Regions from separate parts of the Homo sapiens genome. Here region 2 is linked to region 1. Evidence: promoter capture Hi-C in 16 types of primary human blood cells and fetal thymus (Javierre and others, 2016). All regions are on one chromosome and are shown on one strand. Each heading gives the region's core, a stretch centred on a gene start or on the middle of the fragment in contact. The rest is flanking DNA. Distances are from core to core; before and after follow the strand shown. Region 1 holds the start of RAPSN (receptor associated protein of the synapse). Region 2 overlaps LRP4 (LDL receptor related protein 4).

The links. The method cuts DNA at HindIII sites, captures the fragments that hold promoters and counts their contacts. A CHiCAGO score of 5 or more calls a contact.
Region 2: a contact is called between a fragment that was not itself captured here and the fragment with the promoter of RAPSN in region 1, in 1 of 17 cell types (naive B cells). The highest score is 5.1, in naive B cells.

Annotation. Positions count from the first base shown.
Region 1 is chr11:47,447,886-47,453,025 of GRCh38, forward strand. RAPSN (receptor associated protein of the synapse) reads right to left here and starts at 1,251. Exons shown (of 8, transcript NM_005055.5): 1 at 888-1,251; 2 at 1-265. The coding sequence starts at 1,079. The HindIII fragment of the contact is 3,655 bases long and covers 399-4,053 here.
Region 2 is chr11:46,854,706-46,859,845 of GRCh38, forward strand. It overlaps LRP4 (LDL receptor related protein 4), which reads right to left. Exons shown (of 38, transcript NM_002334.4): 38 at 2,012-4,610. The coding sequence ends at 4,278. The region is part of intron 2 of LRP4-AS1 (LRP4 antisense RNA 1); the gene reads left to right. Among named protein-coding and RNA genes, the nearest start is that of LRP4-AS1, 11 kb to the left of the region's middle. The HindIII fragment of the contact is 2,101 bases long and covers 1,203-3,303 here.

The sequences.
Region 1 (5,140 bases), core at 1-2,500:
CATAGCGCAGGGCCTTCTCGAAGCTCTCCAGGGCCTTCTGGAAGACGCTGAGGCCCAGGAAGGCATTGCCCATGCTCAGGCTGACCTGGCCTCCGAGCTGGGCACCTGCCCTGGTACCAGGCAGCCCAAGGCAGGTCTTGCAGTAGGAGATGGTCTTGTGAAACTCGCACAGCTTCTCGTTGCTGCGTGCCAGGTTCAGGTAGCTCTCCAGGAGGAAGTCGGCATCCTCCAGCTCCCGGGCCGTGTCGATCTGGACCACAGCGAACTGCACACAGCGACGGTGGGCAGGTGGTGCTCAGCCTGGACTCTGAGCCTTGGACCCCAGCCTGCACTGCAGGCTCAGACCTGGAGGCCCCACACCCACCCCCCAGCCTCACACCCAAAGCAGCAGATCCCAAAGCTTCTTTTCAGACCCAGAGCTTCTACCCGCCAGCCTCAGCTACCTTCCCTACACCCCAGCCTCACCTCCCAAGCTCAGGCTTGCAGCCTTCACCTTCTATCCCAAGCCTCAGATCTGGAGTCTCCACCACCCACCCACCCCCAGCCGCAACCCTGGAGCCCACACCCCGCCAGGCTCAGACACAGAACACCAGACAGGAAGGCTGAAACCTACAATGGGCTTGAGACCCACAAACCCTCGACCCTGAGGCTGGAGAACCTCAGTCTCAGAGACTCGGGCACCACAGTTCAAGGCCACAGGCCTGAATCTGATGCCAAGACTCAGTATCTAAGACCCAGGGCCTTAGATATAAATTCAGAGCCTCGGGCCCTGGCTGCCAGCCTGTGGGACACAGGGGAGCCCGAGGAGGCCGAGAGGGGACTGGGGAGCCTGGGAGACATCCGGCCCCAGCCTGACCCTCGAACGCCCCCAGGCCGGGTACACCCACCTTCAGCATCTCCTTGTAGCGGCCCATCTCCGAGTGGGCTGTGACCAGGCAGCCCAGCACGCGGAAGCGCCCCATGAGGTCCGAGCTCTTCTCCAGCACCTTTGTCCACACCTGCAATGCCTTCTCTGTCTGGTTGGACTGGTACAGCTGGAGCCCCTTCTCGATCTGCTGCTTGGTCTGGTCCTGCCCCATCCTCCCCAAGCCCTGTGTCCCACGTGGGGTGATCCCTGGTGGCTCCGTGCCTCTAGGCACTCATGGGGCAGGAATCACAGTGCCAGCTGCCCCCCGAAACGTGGGAACAAAAGCAGCGTCGGGTGGGAGCCGGAATGGGGCCTGGATGGAGAGCAGGCGCCACCCTGGGAACAAAGCTGGTTCAGCCCGTCTGCAGCTGTCGCTGCCAGTTGGGGCCACATGGCCTCTGAGGAATGTCAGCAGCAAGGTCACGTGGGCCTCTGCTGCACCCACCCGCGAGCTGGGACGTGGCTTCCCTGAGCATACAGGCACCTTGCCACCTGGGCACCCCCTTGGGCGTCCCTTAGGCACCTCTGACACTGACCCTGACCGCCCTGGCAGCACGGGCCCTCCCAGCAGCCTTGCCAAGGGGCCAGCTCCAGCAAGTGGGCAGGCCTTGGGCTAGAGGTGCTCGGGGGAAGGAGAGCGAGGCTGGACCTGCAGGTCCGGGGAAGCCAGGTGAGCGCCCAGCCCTGCTTCTTCCCCATCAAGACACCCCTGACCGCAGCATCCCCTGGCTCTGTTCCTGAAATTCACTGAGCACCGTGGGTCACTCATCCAGGCCCAGGCTGACACCATTCACCAACTCTCACCTTAGAGAGTCTGGGAAAGACCTCCAGCTGGTGAGAGGCCTGAGCTCTAGCCTGGCTTCCTTCGAACTCTCAGTGGGACCCTAGCCAAGTGACCTGGCACCGTGGACTGAAGAGAGGAATGGTACCTGGCTCACTGGACTGCTATGAGAACTCAATGACGAAAGAGTTGAGAAGGACTTAGGACAGTGCCCGGCACAGGAAACCCCGCATGTGCTGCAAGAGGCTATTTTGCTCCATGGCAAATCCCCACCCGGGCCAGAACCCAGCCCTTGAAGTTTCAATGTCTCACTTCCAATCCCAACCCCGGGCTGAAAGGGTCCTCATAATGAGATTTAACACCAGATACTGTGGAGAAGGGCAAGGTCTTATGTAGTATTGGGGCCCCCGCTAGCAGGCCAGCTCATCCAGCCCCCCTTTCTCCTCTCTCTGCATGCCAGCCTTCTTCCTGCCCCAGGGCAAAAGTTTATCCTTTCTGGCTGGGCAATTCAGTGGTTTTTAGTATATTCACAGAGATGCACATTAATTGCCACTAATTCCAGAACATTTTAACCACCCCAAAAAGGAGACGCACACCCATCAGCAGTTACACCACTCCATTCCCCACCTTGATATGACTGAATCATGTCCCCCCGCAACCAAACGCATATGTTTAAGTCCTAACACTCAGTATCTCATAAGGTGACTGTCTTTGGAGACAGGGTCTTTAAAGGGTGATTAAGGTAAAATGAAGTCACATTGTACCTCATCCAGTTAAGACTGGTATCCCCCCCCCCTTTTTTTTGAGACAGGGTCTCACTCTGTCACCTAGGCTGGAGTGCAGTGGTGCAGTCACAGCTCACTGCAACCTCTACCTCCTAGGCTCAAGTGACCCTCCCACCTCAGTCTCCTGGGTAGCTGAGACCACAGCTGTCTAGTTTTTGTAGAGATGGGTTTCACCATGTTGCCCAGGCTGGTCTTGAACTCCTGGAGGTGGAGGTTTCAGTGAGCCGTGATTGTGCCACTGCACTCCAGCCTGAGCACCAGAGCAAGACCTTGTCTCAAAAAATAAATAAACAATAAATTTTTATTTTTAAAAATTATTTTTGAGACGGAGTTTTGCTCTTGTTGCATAGGCTGGAGTGCAGTGGCACAATCTCAGCTCACTGAGACTTCTACCTCCCGGGTTCAAGCAATTCTCCTGCCTCAGCCTCCCAAGTAGCTGGGATGACAGGTGTATGCCACCACGCCTGGCTAAGTTTTTGTATTTAGTAGAGACGGGGTTTCACCATGTTGGTCAGGCTGGTCTTGAACTTCTGACCTCAGTTGATCCACCTGCCTCAGAGCCTCCCGAAGTATTGGGGTTATAGGCGTGAGCCACCATGCCTGACCACAATACTTTTTTTTTTTTTTGAGACACTTTCCCTCTGTCACCCAGGCTGGAGTGTGGTGGTGCCATCTTGGCTCACTGCAACCTTCACCTCCCAGGTTCAAGTGATTCTCCTGCCTCAGCCTCCTGAGTAGCTGGGATTACAGCTGCGCACCACCACACCTGGCTAATTTTTGTATTTTTAGTAGAGACGGGGTTTCACCATGTTGGTCAGGCTGGTCTGGAACTCCTGACTTCATGATCTGCCCACCTCTGCCTCCCAAAGTGTTGGGATTACAGGCGTGAGCCCCCGCACCTGGCCCACAATAAATGTTTAAAAAGGACACAGTCACACAGAAGAAGAGCACGTGAAGACACAGGGAGAAGATGGCTATCTACAAGCCCAGGAGCAAGGCCTTAGAATGAAACCAACTCTGCCAATTCCTTGATCTTGGACTTCTAGCGTCCAGAACTGTGAGAAAATAAATTTCTGTTATTTAAGCCACCTGGTGTCTATGGACCTGTCTATTGTGGACCCTTCACAGGAATGGAATCATACAATATGTGGTCATCTGTGACTGGCTTCTTTAACTTGGCATAATGTTTTCAAGATTCAACTATGTTTTCAACCGTATCAGAACTTCATTACTTATTGTGGTTGGTTAATACTCATTGTCTGGATATACATTTTGTTGATTCAGCAGTTAATAGGCATTTGGGTTGTTTCATTTTTGGCTACTATGAATAATGATGCTATAAAAATTCATGTACAAATTGGGCTGGGCACGGTGGCTCACGCCTGTAATCCCAGCACACTAGGAGGCTGAAGCAGGCAGATCACTTGAGCCCAGGAGTTGGAGACCAGCTTGGGAAACATAGCGAGACCCCATATCTACAAAAAATACAAAAAAAAAAAAAAATTAGCTGGGTGTGGTGGTGCACAGCTGTGGTCCCAGCTACTCGCGAGGCTGAGGCAGGAGAATCGCTTGAGCCTACAAGCTTGGACTGCAGTGAGCCGCAATCATGTCACTACACTCCAGCCTGGGTGACAGAGCGAGACCCTGTTTCAAAAAAATAAAAAATTCATGTACTAGGTTTTATGGGGACATGTTTTCATTTCTCTTAGGTATATGCTTGGAGCAGAAGTGTGAGTAATATGGCAACTGTTACATTCTGGTACCTGCCTACCTGTCTGCCCCAGGGCCTTTGCACCTCCTAATTCCTTCTCTGTTCACCACACCCACACTCTGCCTCGTAAGTCATAATTAGGATGAATCAGCATATTATCCTCTCATTGAATTACACTGCATTCTGATACAGGACTTATCTCTATAATTTTATTTTGAGACAGGGTCTCACTTTGTCGCCCAGGCTGGAGTGCAGTGGTACAATCTAGGCTCACTGAGGCCTCGACCTCCTGGGCTCAAGCCACCCTCCCACCTCAACCCTCGCAAGTAGCTGGCATTACAGGCAATGCCACCATGCCCAGCTAATTTTTATATTTTTAGTAGAGACGGGGTTTCACCATGTTGGCCAGGCTGGTTTTGAACTCCTGTGCTCAAGTGATCCGCTGGCCTGGGCATCCCAAAGTGCTGGGATTACAGGCGTGAGCCACCACGCCCAGCCTCTCTATAATTTTATATTAGTGAGGTTGTTTGCTGAATGTCTTTATTCTTCACTCAAATGAGGTCATATGGCTGGGCCCTAACCCAGGGCAGGACTTTGTCTCCTTCATTACTGACTGTATTCCCAGAGCAAGGCCCGGCACACTGTGGCCCCTCAATAAATGTCAAATATCGGTGAATGGGGAAGAAGCGGAGGAAAGACGGCTTCACCGGGAAATTCAGAGCAACTACACGGCCTGCTTCCTGAGAGCCCAACGGGTCAGAGGGGACGCTCTGGGGGTCAGAAGGCAAATGCCCCAGGCTCAACAGAGGCAGAGTGGGAGCAGGCTCTGGGACAGGTGGCTGGGCAAGGCCACCTGGACTCCCCAAAGGAGTGCTCCTAAGCCTGGGAAAGGGAGGGAGAGCTGGCTGGGGTCTTCTCTCATCTCAGGGAGGCCTGGGTTGATGCTGAGCTGCAGA
Region 2 (5,140 bases), core at 1,003-3,502, 590 kb before region 1:
CGACTCAACTTCACATTTGAAGAAAAGATATATTACAGACTGTTTCGTAGCCATAAAAAGGACTCAGCCACATTTCTTTTATCATTATGTCCATAAATAGAAACCAGACAACTTAGGGCCAGGTGCGGTGGCTCACGCCTGTAATCCCAGCACTTTGGGAGGCTGAGGCGGGCGGATCACAAGGTCAGGAGATTGAGACCACGGTGAAACCCCGTCTCTCCTAAAAATACAAAAAATTAGCTGGGCGTGGCAGTGGGCGCCTGTAGTCCCAGCTACTTGGGAGGCTGAGGCAGAAGATTGTGCCACTGCACTCCAGCCTGGGCGACAGAGCGAGACCCTGGATAACCTTGGATATCAGTGCATTACTGGGTCCTCTTAGAACCCTCTTAGAACCCACTTAGAAACCTGTGCACCCTCAGCTTTTGTAGATGCTGCCTCTGAGTTCCTATGCATTGAATTTAGGCCTACGTTTGGTGACAGCTTCAGTTTATCCAGAGTCCTTTCTATGGGCCAGAGATCCTTTCATTTTAGATTCCACAGTTTGTTCATACACCATAGACAGACCGTGACTGTATTTTGAGTGAGTTTGCAAAAATATGGCCAGTTTGTTAGAACTTGACCCACCATCTGCTCACTTATCAGTTTCAGGGTTTTTTTGTTTTGTTTTTTTAGTGACAAGGTTTTGCTCTGTTACCCAGGATGGAATGCAGTGGCGTGATCATAGCTCACTGTAACCTTGAACTCCTGGGCTCAAGCAATCCTCCTGCCTCAGCCTCCCAAGCAGCTGGGACTACAGGCATGAGCTACCACACCTGACTAATATTTTTAAATTTTTTTGTAGAGATATGGTCCTGTCATGTTGCCCAGGCTGATCGTGAACTCCAGGCCTCAAGCAATACTCCTTACTTCTGTCTTGGCCTCCCAAAGTGGTGAGATTACTTTGGTGTAGCCACTGTGCCTGACCCTAGTTTCAGATTTTATACCAGAGAACTAGACAAGGAATTCCCAACCTTTGTTTTATCCCAAGATGTCCTCCTTTTCTGCTTTTTTTTTCCCTCCCAAAGAGAACAGTGGGGGTTGGAGGGATGGTTATCCTTGGGCTATTCTACTTGTTTTTGTTCTGGCACACCTACTCCTTACTACAGTTAGAAAAATTATACACTGTAGCTTATACTCAGATCTCTGGTCACTTAAATACAAGAAGCTTCAGTCTTTCTTACTTTCATTTTTTGTCTTTTTTTGGGATGGTGGTGGTAATGGTGTTGCTAGACTCTAAGCTCTGTAAGATTATGTCTTTGTTTAGGCATGGGCAGTGCCTAGCCCATAGCAGATGAATGAATGAATGAATGAATGAATGAATGGGGATATTATCCTATAGATGGTGTGTGGTTTAGAAAATCAACTATTGAGACTTGACATGAAATTCTACATCGGGCGTTGAGATTAACATGATTCCCAGTTTTCACTGAGGGATATCACATCCAGAGAACCTGAGAAGGGATCCCTAGCTCCTTGTTCTAGCCTTGAGAAGTAGTGGATGAGCTATGAAAAGACAGCTTTTAAAAATAAATGAAATCCTAGTGATAATTTGATCCACTCTCAGACTAACTATGAAAGTTGACTAAGATCAAACAGAGCTAGTGGCAGATCTGGGACTGGAATTAGCCCTCCATGTCCCCAGCTCCAGTACTTTTCTTACTACATGAGATAGTCTTGCCAGTGACCATCACTGCAAGGCAAAGTAAAGTTCTGTAACAAAGACCTAGAACAGAAATAGAAGATACATGGTATACATGCCATGACATTTCCTTCCAGTGCACAGAAGAGATGTCACTAGCCATATGACATTCTTCCCATTGGGTGCGAATAGGCCCTCAGGCAGCCACTACCAACCAGTCAGAGTCAGCACTCAAGAGGAAACCCATCTACCATTCCTCTTCCAGAGGAAATAAAGGTTTCATCAGTCAAGGAACTCTGGCCTCGACCTGTCTTCTCCAGATGAGCTGAAAACTCCAGCAGGAACCTCACACTCTTTATTGCTCTTCACTGTGCCCACATCCACAAAGGACTTAAAAGTGATGTCTGTAAGCAGGTTTTCCACAGCATGGGTCTGCCAGACAGAGCAGGTGCAGGATTAGTCATGACTCCAAGCCAGGCAAGGTGATTAAGAAAAGCTAAATTTATATTAAATTATCATAAAGTCCTAAAATACTGAACATAGTGGTTAAATAACTCCAGAAAGTCCAATCTCTCCAGTGAGTAACGTTAAAACCATTACACATGAGCATGGGAGAATCGCTTCCATTAGTTTAGGACAGAGAGATTTTGCTTTTTACAGAGTAAATCAGTGCTCAAATAGATACTTCCTCAAATATGTCCTTTCTACATTCTGAACAGCCCAAGTGCAATAAGATCCTTCCCCCTTTCCAATCAAGAAAATGCCACTTTTCTACTTGCTCTTCCTCCCCAGACGTGAGTCTAAGGACCCAAAGTGCTCACTCCTTTACTGCTTGTTAAGTGTAATGTGGGGAGGCTCAGAACTGGGGCTGACGCTACTGAGAGCAAGGCTAAGGGCCTGGTATCTCTCTCTAGCAGTCTTAGAACTGACTAGAAAAGAATTGATCTTGTCCTTTTTCACTTTGGTAGCTGATTTCTCAATACCAGTAACCACAGGAGAAGTTTCAACTCAGGAAACTTCCCCTAGAAATTCTCCCCTCCATTCCCAGCCCCTGTTGTTCTCTCCTGCCACTTCTAATTCCTGGGGGAGAAGAGGTCTGGGTCTGCCATGGGCTAGGAGGGCCTCATCAGTGGTGCTCTCTACCTTCCTACTCCTTACCCACCTCTTTGTATTTTTATTTATTCAGCCCTCCCACCACAGGACTTTGGAGATTGCTGGTGCCACAAGGCTTGGTCAGAAAAAGCAAATTAGGCAAAAAAACAAACAAAAAAACCCCACGAAGAACAGCTAGGGAGACGTTTTAGGGCAAAAATAAGTCTCAATTTCCCTGATACCAGGCTGAGACACGTGCCCTTTGTGTGAATGAGCATGAACCAAGTGATGGCATCCCACATGGAAACTAAGCCCCTTAGCTGAGGGGACAGCTGGAAGAGGAACATCACCACCCCGTAGCCACAGGCTTGCTGTCCACTAACTTAGATCCCTGAGCACTTGAGAAAGAACATAGGAAGTTCAACAGGAAGTTTGACCCTCATGGATACTTCTCTTTAGGCCCTGGGTTTCCCAAGTCTCCAACCTGATCGTTCTTTCTGACCATTTATGACAACTTCTGGTTTTTCTTTGAAAGCTTGTTTCTAGGTCTCTTCCCCAGAATCCCAGGACATGAGGGAGAGAGGGGTCAGGAGGTATACCATATTTGGTCTAGGCAGAGCTTCTTAGACTTTTCAGAGACTCAGCCCCCAAGGCCTAACATTCACTCAAGCCACTGGCTCACAACCTGGTTAATTTGAGCAAAGACTTAGGAAAGGTACTGGCCAGTGGTGGCACCAGGAGGGAATTCCTATTAGCCAGTAGCCTTGTGATAGGGGACCCAGTTATCTGAATGTAGAAACAGCTCCAGACATTCTAGGAGGAGGAAGAACAGCCTGAGCCACCCCCATCTCACCAGTATCTGCTGCTGAAAAGGCAGTGTCTCTTAGGGCAAGAATAATGTCCACTGCCAGCAATGGACCAGACACCCAGATCCAACTACCCCCCAAAGCTTTTTCATGTTACTAACACACTTGAGGCTGGAGGTTTCCCAGATGCCCATACCTGCTGGGCTGATTCTTCCTTCTTCTCTCAGCCTCTATCCTTCATCCCTGTCTTTACCCACACCCCCATGTCCCAGCCCCTGATGGGCAAGTTCTCTCAGAGAAGCAGTCATGCTGGCTGTGATGGGGCAGAGCGCAGTCCTGGGTCATCAGCTGCATCAGCACTGAGAAGCAGGCACTGAGGGTACTGGGGAAAGGGGAGGTGGAGCTCTACGCTGGTGAGGAATCACGAATAAGCAGTTTCAGGGGGCCCAGGATGGAGTACAAGATGTGAGGTTCATGGTAAAATCCAGGTCTAAATTCTCGTGATGTGCCATCATTTCTTGTGCACAGGTAGTTATGGACTCACGTGGTAAACAGCTCCGGTGAAGGCTTAGGAACAGTTATGGGGTGGGAGGAGGAGGAGGACAAGCACACAGAAGCGGGGCCTGCGGTGTAAGCGAGCACAAGGACTAGACGTCCATAAAGGAGAAGGAACAGGCAGGCAGGGAAGAGAATGTGGGCATTTAGACCTGGCTCTCTGAGGAGAGCTTGCGTTCATGTTTCCAGCCCGTGTCTGGCAGAGAGCCTCGTCTTTCTGGAGTGGCTGCAGTATGGACGCTGCTACACTCAGACTGCTCTTCCTGTAACAGCTGCTCCGTCTCTGTGTCATCCAGGGAGCCAGAGCTGGCCTGGATGGACACCGTGTCTGTCTTCATGCATACATGATCCCGGAGGAGGCCCCCCCGTGAGCTTCGCAGTTGCTTGAGGTCATCCCACTCAGCATCATCCCCAGACAGGAGGCAGATTCCCTCTACGATCTTGATCTTCTCCTTGGTGTAGTTATGGTCAGGCCCTCCCTAGGGTGGAGAGTGGGCAGATATGGTCAGTCAGTTGGCCTTCTACAAAGGATCCCATGGTAAACTGAAAAAGGAAGTGGATGGGGTAAGAGTAGGAGTGAAGCGCACAAAAATCCCACAAACAAATGGGGAAATGTGATTAAGACAAGTGTATGAGGCCTAGCCTAAAAGGGGAGAGGCAGCTGTGATAATTATTACCATTACCATACAGGAGGAGGGAAAACCATGGCTTCCGGTCCTGCAGCAGCCACTCACTGGCTTTGTCACCTTAGGCAAATTATTTCACATTTCTAAAACTCAGTCTCTTAAGACTCTGCAGTGTGAGGAGAGTAACAGTATCCACACCTCACAACCAACTGCTGTCACCTTAAATGAGATGATACATGGAATGCAGTTATCAGGGAGCTTGACACAAGATGCACTATAACATGTTAGCTATGTTACATTGTTACTGTGGTTTATTAATGGGACATCATGCTGATATAAATCATCAAAAGCAATTGGCAAGAGCAATTAAATGTACATTTATT